Linked DNA regions of Homo sapiens: regions 2, 3 and 4 are each linked to region 1. Evidence: promoter capture Hi-C in human tissues and cell types (Jung and others, 2019). All regions are on one chromosome and are shown on one strand. Each heading gives the region's core, a stretch centred on a gene start or on the middle of the fragment in contact. The rest is flanking DNA. Distances are from core to core; before and after follow the strand shown. Region 1 holds the start of ACVR1C (activin A receptor type 1C). Region 2 has its middle 21 kb from the start of PKP4-AS1. Region 3 has its middle 2.6 kb from the start of PKP4-AS1. Region 4 overlaps PKP4-AS1 (PKP4 antisense RNA 1).

Region 1 (2,838 bases), core at 235-2,734:
GGCTGTTTTCCTAAAAGATAACTGGAATGTTTTAATCCTCAGATTTTGTCAATTAATCCTTTTCAATAATCAAATTTATATTTGAATATTGTATTTAGTGATTCTCTCAGGCCATCTGAAACACTGAAATCTGTACATGACAGCAATCATATCATTCAAATCATTCTCTTGCACATGTCACTAAGAGGAAAACGACCCACCATGAATATAGCTATTAATGTCAAACAGATTGTCATCTGGGAAAACAAAATGCATCAAAATCAGCTTCGGACAAAACACAGCTCTATGGGAAAACACCAGATTTTTATGTGCAAATGTCTTCAATGTCTGATAGAAATTTTTAAAGAATGAGTTAGCAAAGAATCTGCTCCTCCTCTGCATAATCCAGGACAATGTAATGAAAATAGTTTTCGAGGTAAAGGGCTTTTAGTCACAGCATATTATGATTTTACCAAAGATGCATTTGCCCCACTTTCTAGTAAACATTATAAAGAAACGTCTGGCTTCTAGATTGGGTAGAGGGCTCTATTTAGCCTATCAAGGCACAGACCTGTTATAAACTCTGGGGCGCTTGCCAGAATTTTTTTCCCCAGGAACTCTGAGTAAAGATCGTACCTCGAAAGCAATGTGCGTTGCAAACCACACAGATTTAAGCTCCCACTCTCGCCTCCATAGCTTGGCATCTGCGGCTTTTGGGGTATTCCCCGCCTCCTAAAACTCAGACTAAATCACCACCTCCCACCACCACCATGCCACCATCCTTGAGCAGCTCTCAGGGGCTTAGCACAGAGCGCGTCCGACGCATACCTGCAGCCCTCCAGGTCCCTGCAGGGTGAACCCAGCTCCCAGCCATGCGCGCACCCACAAACGCTCTCCTATTTTCTCCGCTGCAAACTGCCCACAAATTAGTCACCCACCTCACCCCTACTACTTATTCCCCCACGTCCCTGCTGCCTTTTCCCTCTTCCGGGCGGCTTCGTCCCCAACACACCTGTCTACCCCTACGGCTGCCAGACGTCAGGTGCCCACGCTGCACCCTATCCCGCGCCCCCTCAATCCGACTGGCGCTTCCCTGTCCGCCCCGAAGGTCAGTTTGCTCGGAGCACCCCCTGTCCCCCACCCCCGTGCTCACCCGCAGACCTCCTCCCAGCTCCCACCCTCGCGGGCGTCGGGAGAGAAACCAGCACCGTACCTGGCGAGAGCTCGGCGGCCGCTGCGAGCAGCAGGAGAGCCTGGCGGAGCGCTGAGCAGAGCGCCCGGGTCATCGCCACCAGGCGGCCGCGCCGGGGCTGCGAGGCCCCAGAGCAGAGCGAGGCAGCCGGGGCAGCACGGCCCGCTTTGAAGTTCCCGGGCCGCGGGAGGGGAGCGCGGCACCGACACCCTTTTGAAGTGCGCGGTTGGCTCTAGTCAGTGTGGGCGCCCCCCTCCCCGGCCGCCCCCATCCCACGCCCCCTGCGGCTGGCGGTGCGCGGCGCTCCTGCCACTGGCCCCGCAGCCGGGCGGGGAGCGGGTGGTGGGGCGGGCGGCAGAGCCCGCCCCTGCCGCGCCTCCGCCCCCTGCGCCCTCTCGCAGCCGCCCGGGCCTGCTGCTGCAGGGCAGGCAGGCAAAGGCGGCCCTGTGCCCGGCAGTGAGATCGCCCAGAGCTGGGGCGAAGAAAGAGGGGGCGTGGGGAAGCAGTGCGGAGCCTCCGGGACTAGATACTCAGGAATGGGGCTTCTCACGGGAGGAAAAGCCCCACTGAGACTTTAGGGAAACTTCAACTACGCGGCGATTGCGCCCAGGTGATCCGCTCTATAACCTCCCGCAGAAGAGCCAGCCTCCTAGCTCTCCTGACGTTTGTTGTCCAGGGTCCTTAAGTCCAACCAGGTTGCGCTGTGAGAGCCCCGCGGGCTTCCTACTGGCTTGTCCCACCCCTGCGTCCTGGCCATTTGTGCCTCTGGGGAAGGGCGCCCTCTCTGTTCATCCCTGGAAATGACCAGTTGTCCGACTGCCTTCTGGACCTATAAGCTTTGGTTTAACAAACTTCATCTCTTCTTGGGTGCCTTTTGGGAACCCTTCCCTCTATGAATGGCGACCAAAGCTGGACCACCTGCGCCAGGTGATGTGGCCATCTACAATGTGTGACCCACGTCTGGTGGTAAAAGACCTCACCTATGGAAGATAATTTCGGCAGCTACAACTTCAGCAATTGAAGAACTAAGGGAACATACACACACACACACACACACACACACACACACACACACACACACGGATTAAGGGAAGGGGAAGAATTGTTTAAAGTAGTATATGAAAAACTTGTTTGAGTATTGTTTAATCCCTAGAGGCTAACTGTCAAACGGGTGCCTGAAAATATAAGGCCTGGATTGTGCCTGAAAATATAAGGACAACGGCAACATTACCAATTTATAGAAATTAAATTCAATTCACCTATGGAGCCTGAACATTAAAGTGAATGGGATTATTTCAATCTGAACAACGCGAAAAAGCAAGAATACAATACTGGTGTTATTACTACTGTTGGGGGTTCCTTGAAAAGTGATAGCGTCATAAAAATTGCTTTAGAGTAAAACATTTCTTGCTTCTTCACCTAGCTCAGGACTAAATTATATGCTAGGTGTTCTAAGTTCTATGAAAGACCTATGGTGAAATGTTGTATGTAATTGACTTTATTATCAAAGGATCACAGTATGGGAGATGAGATGGTTGTTGGACTTTGAGATGTGGGTGGCATCCTGAGGATCTTTTCTGCCACCATCTTATATTCCTAAGCACAAAAAAACTTTGTTCTTGTTTTATCCTGGATCCAAACAAACAAAAAACTGGAGATGTGGGACA
Region 2 (2,838 bases), core at 104-2,603, 1.1 Mb after region 1:
TCCACAGAAAACAGCAGGAGGAACCGCTACAGAGTATGGGAGACAAGAAGAGAATGCCTCCTAACACCTACATAATAAGCTGTAATGGTGGAAAGCCATTTGCTTTTGAATTTTATTGAAAATGCCAAATACAGGTCGTGAATATTGAAATGGACGTCTGAGCGGTGCACAAATCCTCGCAGGTCTTACTGAAGCTTCCCAGGATTAGCTTCCCAGCACAGAGCTCCTAAGGCTTGATTGGGTTTGCAAAGCAAGGATGCTGAGCTGGAGAAAATCAACTAGCCAGAAGTCATCTTGGGAAGGGAAAGTTATTTCTGATGGGAAAATATTTGATAAGAAGCTGATGCCTGTGTGGACAGAATGGTCTAGGGTTTGTTTTTGTTTGGTTGGTTTTTTTGTTTTGTTTTGTTTCTTTTTTGTTTTTGAAATGGAGTCTCGCTCTGTTGCCCAGGCTGGAGTGCAGTGGTGCAATCTCGGTTCACTGCAACCTCCACTTCCCAGGTTCAAGCCATTCTCCTGCCTCAGCCTCCCGAATAGCTGGGATTACAGGCGCCTGCCACCAGGCCCGACTAATTTTTGTATTTTTAGTAGAGAGGTGATCCACCCGCCTCAGCCTCCCAAAGTGCTGGGATTATAGGTGTGAGCCACTGTGCCTGGCCTGTTCTATTTTATTATTATTGTTATTCATCTCTTATTGTGCCTAGTTTATACATTAAACTTTATCGTAGGTACATATATATAGCAAAAGACATAATATATATATGGTTCAGGCATCCACTGGGGGTCTTGGAATGTATCACCCACAGATAAAGGGAAACTATTGTAACTTCAGTTGAGAAAAGCTCATAGTCAAATGCTTCTCTCTGACTTAACGTACTGCCCATCTATTGGTACTAGAAAAGTCAATGTTATAACAGCCCTAAAACTGCCAACACATGTGAAAAATATTTAGCTTTTTGTCTAACGATGGGACCCAACTGACCAAATAAAACCCAAATAAAGGACCTGTAACTGCTCATATCTTTCATGTGTGCCTGCAAGCAAATTTTATATTCCTTCCCACTGAGATTTCTTTCTTTCAAAATATTCCAGGTATGTGGCTTCAAAGCATGTGGCATCTGACATGTGGACACATTGAGAGTAGGATGAGATTGTATTTACCTTTGCCTTGCTGGAGCTTAGCACCTTTGTGGTGTCTTTTGATAAATGGGAAGTGACAAATGTTCTCACGTGGGCAGCAGGAAGGATTCATATGCTCCTCCAATTTTACAGCAACAGACAACAAATGAAAAGGAAGGGCTTAGTCATGCAGGGGCACACTCTCACCTCATCACTAGATGACAGTGCAGCACCCCAGACTCACAGCTTGCCCATAAGTCTTGCATTTAGTGCATGAGGATTCCATTCAGATGCCACCGAATGCCATTTCCATGATCTGGACTGACTTTTCTTTTTTCAGGCACAATAAAGTAAAGACAATTTGGAGTCATTTGCCTTGTTTCTTCAATAAAAGAAAGACTTGGATTTACACAGCCTCTTTTCTCCAAAGAGCTCAGCATGCTTGCCCATCTGGTGTCTCATTTGCCTTCGTTTCATCGCTTTAAAGTCAATAAAGTGTGTTATGCTAGTGTCAGGGCCAGGGAAGGTGAGAGAGTGTGTAGGCTTATTCCTGCTCGCCAAGAGGGGGCGCCCCTGTGCCCTCCTAGTAACACATTCCTAGACACCCATTGCCCACCTACGAGGTGGCCAGTCCACATTCTGCAGGCACCAGAGGCTCTCTGCCCACAAGCAATGCCAGTCTGCAACTGCCAAGTCTAACACAAAGAGACACGTGAACAGAGAATCACAATATAGCATGATAAGAGGTAGGCTGCAGGGATGGGTTAGGTTTGGGTGTGGAGAGAGTCAGAGTTGGGCACAAGAGGAAGTTACTGAAGGGTTTAAAAAGTAAAGTTTCAGTACAAATTGTAGTAAATGAAGTAATTGGAAAAACAGTGTTAACCCCTTTTTAATTAGTTAAATTAATTAAATCAGACTTTCTGCTCACCAAAATGTATCCTATGTGTTTTCTAAGCTTGATTGACAAGTTTGGCTGAAAGGACCAAACTACTTTTTGCTTAATAATTACAAAATAGGTAGAAAAAATGCACCCCCTCCAAAAAAGTAAAGCTTCAATAACAAGGCTGTGGAGGAGTAGCAACCCTCATACATTGCCAGTGTGAGTGAAAAATGACTCAGATGCTATGGAAAGCAGTTTGACGTTTCCTCAAAAAGTTAAACACAGAATTACCGCATGACCCAGCATGCATACCCAAAATAATTGAAAACCGGTGCTCAGACAAATCCTTGTACACAAACATTCATAGCGACATTATTCACAAGAGTCAAAAGGTAGAAACAGCTGAAATGTCCGTCAACGAATGAAGACGTAAACAAATTGTGGCTACACACATACAATGGAATAATATGCAGCCGTAAAAAGAACTGAAGTACTGATACACGCTATAACTTGCATGAACCTGTAGACTGTTATGCTAAGTGGGAGATGCTAGACTCAAAAGGTCACGTATTGTATAACCCCGTGTATATGAATTATCCAGGTTATGCAAATCCATAGAGACAGAATGTGGATTGGTGGTTGCCAGGGGCTGGGGAAAGTGTTGAATGGTGGGGGGTGACTGCTTAATGAGTGTGGGGTTCTGTTTTGGGATGATGGGATTGTTTTGGAACTAAACAGAGATGGCGGTTGCATAACACTGTGAATGTACTAATTGCCATGGCATTGTTCAGTCTAGAGTGGTTAATTTTGTTACGTGAATTTCACCTCAGTAACTTTTT
Region 3 (2,838 bases), core at 159-2,658, 1.1 Mb after region 1:
TCTCAACCTCCTGTCTTTTCCTCCTCTGACCTGACCTCTGTAACTTTAATAAGTCAGTTTTTCTTGGGCCTTTCAACTTGACCTTCTGTGAATTCTGAAGCCTCCTTTTAACCTAATGGCCAATTCAGTTCACAAGTGCTAAACCTGTTCCTTCTGGAGTCACTGTCTTTCCAAATGGCTCTACCATCTGGCTGCCCAACTGCTCAAGTCAAATGTGTCTGAGGTCATCCTAGATTCCTTGGACACATTACACTGCATTTCTAACCAACTATCAAAGCATGTCTATTGTGCCTCTTAAATATTTTTTGAATCCTTATTCATCTCTCCATCCACATTTGCAACTTCCATCCAGGGCCCCATTACATTTTGCCTCCATTGTCACAGCCTCCTAACTAGCCTCTTTATCCCCAGCCTTGCTTCCCTCTAGACCACTCCCCCACAACATCTGGGTGATATCACAAAGTTATTACCTTTGAGATAAAGTCTACACTCCTTCCTAAGGTTTTCAAAGCCGATATGAGCCAGCATCTGCTTAAATAATGCCCACTCTATCCTTCTCCCATGACTCCACCACACACCTGGTCCATGATGCTTCAGAAACATTGACTGCTTCCCTCTTTGTTCTACCTTAAACACGCTTCTCGTTTCTTCTGGTGAATGCCTGCTCATTTTGCAGGTCTCAGATGGATCCCCGCTTTCCTGGAGAAGTCTTTCCTGACTCCCCAGAGCTGGATCAGATGCCTCTCTTTGTGCTCCCCTAATACGCTGTATCTGCCCTATTGCAGCACACATCACATTGAATTGCACTGGCCTCTTTTCTTGGCTGTGTCTTCTCCAAACTGGAACACCAGGGCCACATCTGTTTTGCTCGACATAATGTCTCCAGCATCTAGCAACACTAACGAAAACATCTGTTGAATGAATGGTGAATGATTGAAGCCCTTCATACCACAACATGCAGTCTTGCGGCACAGACAGGGGTCTTTTCTGTATTGTGCTCTCAGTTGCAACACAGAACATCAACAGGTACTGGGCAGTGTCTTCTCTATAGAGCAAAGGGGCCCAGTGATAAGGGGATGACTTCCTCCTGCCCTATAGACCAGTCTCCCAAACTTTCTCGACTGCATAGCCTTTCCTAGTTCTTTTTTTCCCTCTTCCTGGCTTCCTCCAGCTTTGCAACCTTCAAGTCAAATTAGCCAAGTTGAATTTTATATGAGCTTAGTTTTATTTTTCACAGTGGAAGCTCCTCATCTCTTCATCAATAATAGACATCACTGTAACCCAAAGCTCTGTGGCTTTTCCAATAGAATCATGTTAATAAATATCTGGTGTTAGTTTGCTGTTGATAGCAACATTTCCAACTCTTTAGTGTTGGCCAAAAAAAAAAAAAAAAAAGAAAAAGAAAAAAAAGAAAAAGAAAGGAGTTGGCAAAAGCAGAGAAGAGCAGGCATGGTTTCTAGCCTTTCTCTCAAAATGTGAACCCTTAGTGCCCCTGAACTAGCTGGATGCCATTCTGGGGATAGAGCAGGTTTTACAGAAGCTTGTGTATTTATAATTTAGGGGTTTTCTTTAAGAAAAAGAGTATAAAACTATAGATATATGGCTTGCAGTTCTTGAAAGTTGCTTGTGCAAGTGCAGTGGGGGCCCTTGAAAACCATCCTTCATTCAATTAATTTGCTTTCCATCTCTATCATAATTTTTATAACTGGAGAAACTGAATCCTAGAGTAATGGAGCTGAGCATGAGTCAGCTTGAGAAGCTCTGGTTGCCCAGCCCTCCCTGCTGCAGGACCTGCAGTTCGTCGTGAAGCTACATGGACTCGAAACACTCACAAAATCCCCAGCTCCCGGTTTCATTCACAGGCCATGCCAGAAGGGTAAAAACAGAAAGGTAAAAAATAAATATTTTTCAATGAACTCAGCCTCTGTGTGGGCAATAAGCTGCTTGGTTTGGTAGGAAGAACGCTGGGCTGGGAGTTGACAGGGGCAGTTGTTGTTCATTCTATTAAGCACTTAGGAAAATAGACGTGCTGATGCTGATTTTGAAACAGATTAATATTGAGCCAGATAACAAGTTTCTACTCCACATTAATAGGAAAAAAATGGTGGATTCTGAGCTCAGTGGAGCTAAGAATTTAAAGAGGTAACCAGTTTTGTAAGAACAGGGAAGAAAAAGCCACTGCACCGCTTAATCACTGTGACCGCCACAGCCCTTTGGGAGCAGAAGGTCACTTCTCAGAACTCCTCCCAATCACTGTGACCACCACAGCCCTTCGGGAGCAGAAGGCCACTTCTCAGAACTCCTCCCAATCACTGTGACCACTGCAGCCATGCAGGGGCAGAAGGCCACTTCTCAGAACCCCTCCCAATCACTGTGATCACCACAGCTCTGTGGGAGTAGAAGGTCACTTCTCAGAACCCCTCCCAATCACTGTGACCACTGCAGCCCTGCGGGAGCAGAAGGCCACTTCTCAGAACCCCACTTCTCAGAACCCCCTCCCAGCCTCGAAGTCAAATCTGATGCCATCCCAAGGTCTTATACCTGGATTGCCTCTTCATGCCTTACCTTTTTGAAGGCATCTTTGAGACATCTTGATCAGTCTGTGCCTGTTTGTGACTTCAGTTTTGCCTCTAGACTCTCTTTCACGGATCAGCCTTGCCCAACCCGGGCCCCTGAGTCCATTCTGCAAGATCCCACTTGTTCAGGATAGAGGTTGAGACCTTCATTTAAGGAAAGTCCTACCGATGATAAGACTCCAGTTTCTAACCTTGTCATCAAGGTTGTCATCCTGCAAGCAGGAATGATAATGTGTGGGGGTGGGGGATTGTCACATGATTT
Region 4 (2,838 bases), core at 139-2,638, 1.1 Mb after region 1:
GCTGGGGCTACAGTGACATGCTACCATTTCCGGCTAATTTTTTTTTTTTTTTTTTTTTTGTAGAGATGGGGTTTCACCAGGCTGGTCTCAAACTCTTAAGCTCAAGGGATCTTCCTTCCTCGGCCTCCCAAAGTGCTGGGATTACAGGCATGCGCCACCACACCCAGCCCACATATAGGTTTTTGTGTGAACATAGGTCTTCATTCCTCTGTGATAAATGACCAAGGGTGCAATTGCTAGGTTATATGGTAATTGCATGTTTCTTTTTTTTTCTAAAGAAACTTTCAAACTGCTTTCCACAATGATTATGCCATTTTACATTCCCACCAGCAATCTAGAAGTGATCAGTTCCTCCACATCCTCTCTAACCTGTAATGTTGTCACTATTTTTTATGTTAGCCATTCTTATAAGGGTGTATCTCACTGTGCTTTGATATCAGGGTAATACTAGCTTCATATAATGAATTAGTAAATATTTCCTTTTCTTCTACTTTCTGGAAGAGATAGTGTAGAACTGGTGTTAATTATTCTTTAAACATTTGGTAGAATTCTCCATTGAAACCATCTGGCCTGGAGATTTTTTTTCTGAGAGTTTTTAAATTAGAAATTAAATTTCCTAATTTTCTTTTCTTTTCTTTTCTTTTGGAAACAGAGTCTCACTCTATCCCCCAAGCTGGAGTGCAGCGGCAGGATCTCAGCTCATTGCAACCTCTGCCTCCCTGGTTCAAGCGATTCTCATGCCTCAGCCTCCCAAGTAGCTGGGATTACAGGCACGTGCTACCACACCCCACTAATTTTGTATTTTTAGTAGAGATGGGGTTTTGCCATGTTGGCCTGGCTGGTCTCGAACCCTTGACCCCAGGTGATCCGCCTCGGCCTCCCAAAGTGCCAGAATTACAAGCATGAGCCACTGTGCCTGGCCTAAATTTCCTAATTATTATAGGGTCTACTCAAATTATATATTTCATGTTGGGTGAGTTGCGGTAATTTGTGTTTTTCTGAGGGAGTGGTTCATTCAGCCTAAGGTGTCAAACTATGTATATAGACTTGTTCATAACAGTCTATTATTATCCTTTTGATAACTGCAGGGTCTGTAGTGATAGCCCCTCTTTCATTGCTGATATTGACAGTTTGTGTTTTCTCTCTGTTTTTGTCAGTTTTACTCTTAAAATTGACTATTTTATTGACCTTTTCAAAAAAAATAAAACCTCTGTTTCATCAATTTTCTCTATTGTGTTTCTATTTTCAATTTCATAGATTTCAGATATTACCTTTATTATTTCCTTCATTCTGTTTGCTTTGGGTTTATTTTGAGCTCTTCTAAGTTCTTGAGTTGGAAGCTTCTGTTATTGATTTCAGACTTTCCTTCTTTTCTAATGTAAGCATTTTGTTCTATACATTCCCTTCTTGGCACTGTTTTAGCAGTGCCCCACAAATGCCAAGATGTTGTATTTTCATTTTATTTACTTCAGGGTAGTTTTTATTTTCCTTGAGCCCTCCTCTTTGACCCATGGATTATTTTGAAGTGTGCTGTTTAGTTTCCAAGTGCTTGGAGATTTTCCATTTATCTTTCTGTTATTGATTTCTAGTTTGATTTCACTGGGTCAGAGAACATACTCTGTATGTTTTCAATTCTTTTAAATTTCTTAAGGTCTGTTTTATGGTACAGGATATGGTCTATCTTGGTATAACGTTCTGTGGGCCCTTGAAAACAACATGTATTCTATTGTTACTGAATGGAGTTTTCTTTTCTTTTCTTTTTTTTTTTTTTTTTTTTTTTTTTTTGAGATAGAGTCTTGCTCTGTTGCCCAGGCTGGAATGCAGTGGCACAATCTCAGCTCACTGTAACCTCCACCTCCTGGGTTCAAGCGATTCTCCTGCCTCAGCCTCACAAGTAGCTGGGATTACAGACGCCCGCCACTATACCTGACTAATTTTTTTTTTTTTTTTTAGTAGATACAGGGCTTCACCATGTTGGTCAGGCTGATCTCAAACCCCTGACCTCAAGTGATCTGCCTTGGCATCCCAAAGTGCTGGTATTACAGGTATGAGCCACTGCGCCTGGCCTTGAATGGAGTTTTCTATAAATGTTGATAAGATTCTGTTGATTAATATTTGCTGAGTTCTTCTATCCTTGCTGATTTTCTGTTTAGCTTTTCATCAATTATTTATTTATTTATTCGAGACAGGGATTTGCTCTGTCGCACAGGCTGGAGTGCAGTGGCACGATCTCAGCTTACTGCAGCCTCTTCCTCCCAGGTTCAAGTAATCTCCCAGCTCAGCCTCTTGAGTAGCTAAGACTATAGGCGTGCGCCACCACACCTGGCTAATTTGTGTTTTTTGTTGTTGTTGTTTCTTTTTTTTTGGTAGAGATGGGGTTTTGGCATGTTGTGCAGGTTGGTCTCAAAGTTCTGGGATCAAGCAATCTGCATGCCTTGGCCTCACAAACTGCTGGGATTACAGGCATGAGCCACCGTGCCTGGTCTACATCAATTTTTGAGAGAGGCGTGTTGTGCTTTCTAAATACAGTTGTGGATTTTCCTATTTCTCCTGTCTATTCTGTGAGTTTTTGCTATCCATATTTGGAGCTCTGTTGTTTGGTGCCTATGCAGTTAGAGTTGCCACTTTTTTCTTGGCAATTGACCCTTTATCATGACATAACATCCTCCTCTGTCTCTGGTAATTTTCTTTCCTTTGATATTTACTTTAATATTAATATAACCAATCTTGCTTTCCTTTTATTAATGTTTGCGTAATATATCATTTTCTAGCCTTTTACTTTTTTAACCACTTTAGCCATTTGTAGTGTACAGTTCAGTGGTGTTAACTACATTCACA

The links. The method cuts DNA at HindIII sites, captures the fragments that hold promoters and counts their contacts. A contact is called where the count stands out against the background at its distance.
Region 2: a fragment that was not itself captured here is called in contact with the fragment with the promoter of ACVR1C in region 1 in 1 of the 25 tissues and cell types used here (dorsolateral prefrontal cortex).
Region 3: a fragment that was not itself captured here is called in contact with the fragment with the promoter of ACVR1C in region 1 in 1 of the 25 tissues and cell types used here (spleen).
Region 4: a fragment that was not itself captured here is called in contact with the fragment with the promoter of ACVR1C in region 1 in 1 of the 25 tissues and cell types used here (lymphoblastoid cells).

The regions. Positions count from the first base shown.
Region 1 is chr2:157,627,380-157,630,217 of GRCh38, forward strand. It overlaps ACVR1C (activin A receptor type 1C), which reads right to left and starts at 1,485. Exons shown (of 9, transcript NM_145259.3): 1 at 1,193-1,485. The coding sequence starts at 1,265. RefSeq lists a silencer at 1,200-1,429. The HindIII fragment of the contact is 14,203 bases long and covers 1-2,775 here.
Region 2 is chr2:158,754,244-158,757,081 of GRCh38, forward strand. No RefSeq gene overlaps it. Among named protein-coding and RNA genes, the nearest start is that of PKP4-AS1, 21 kb to the left of the region's middle. The HindIII fragment of the contact is 3,473 bases long and covers 1-2,838 here.
Region 3 is chr2:158,736,191-158,739,028 of GRCh38, forward strand. No RefSeq gene overlaps it. Among named protein-coding and RNA genes, the nearest start is that of PKP4-AS1, 2.6 kb to the left of the region's middle. The HindIII fragment of the contact is 3,985 bases long and covers 1-2,838 here.
Region 4 is chr2:158,708,817-158,711,654 of GRCh38, forward strand. The region is part of intron 1 of PKP4-AS1 (PKP4 antisense RNA 1); the gene reads right to left. Among named protein-coding and RNA genes, the nearest start is that of PKP4-AS1, 25 kb to the right of the region's middle. The HindIII fragment of the contact is 3,816 bases long and covers 1-2,838 here.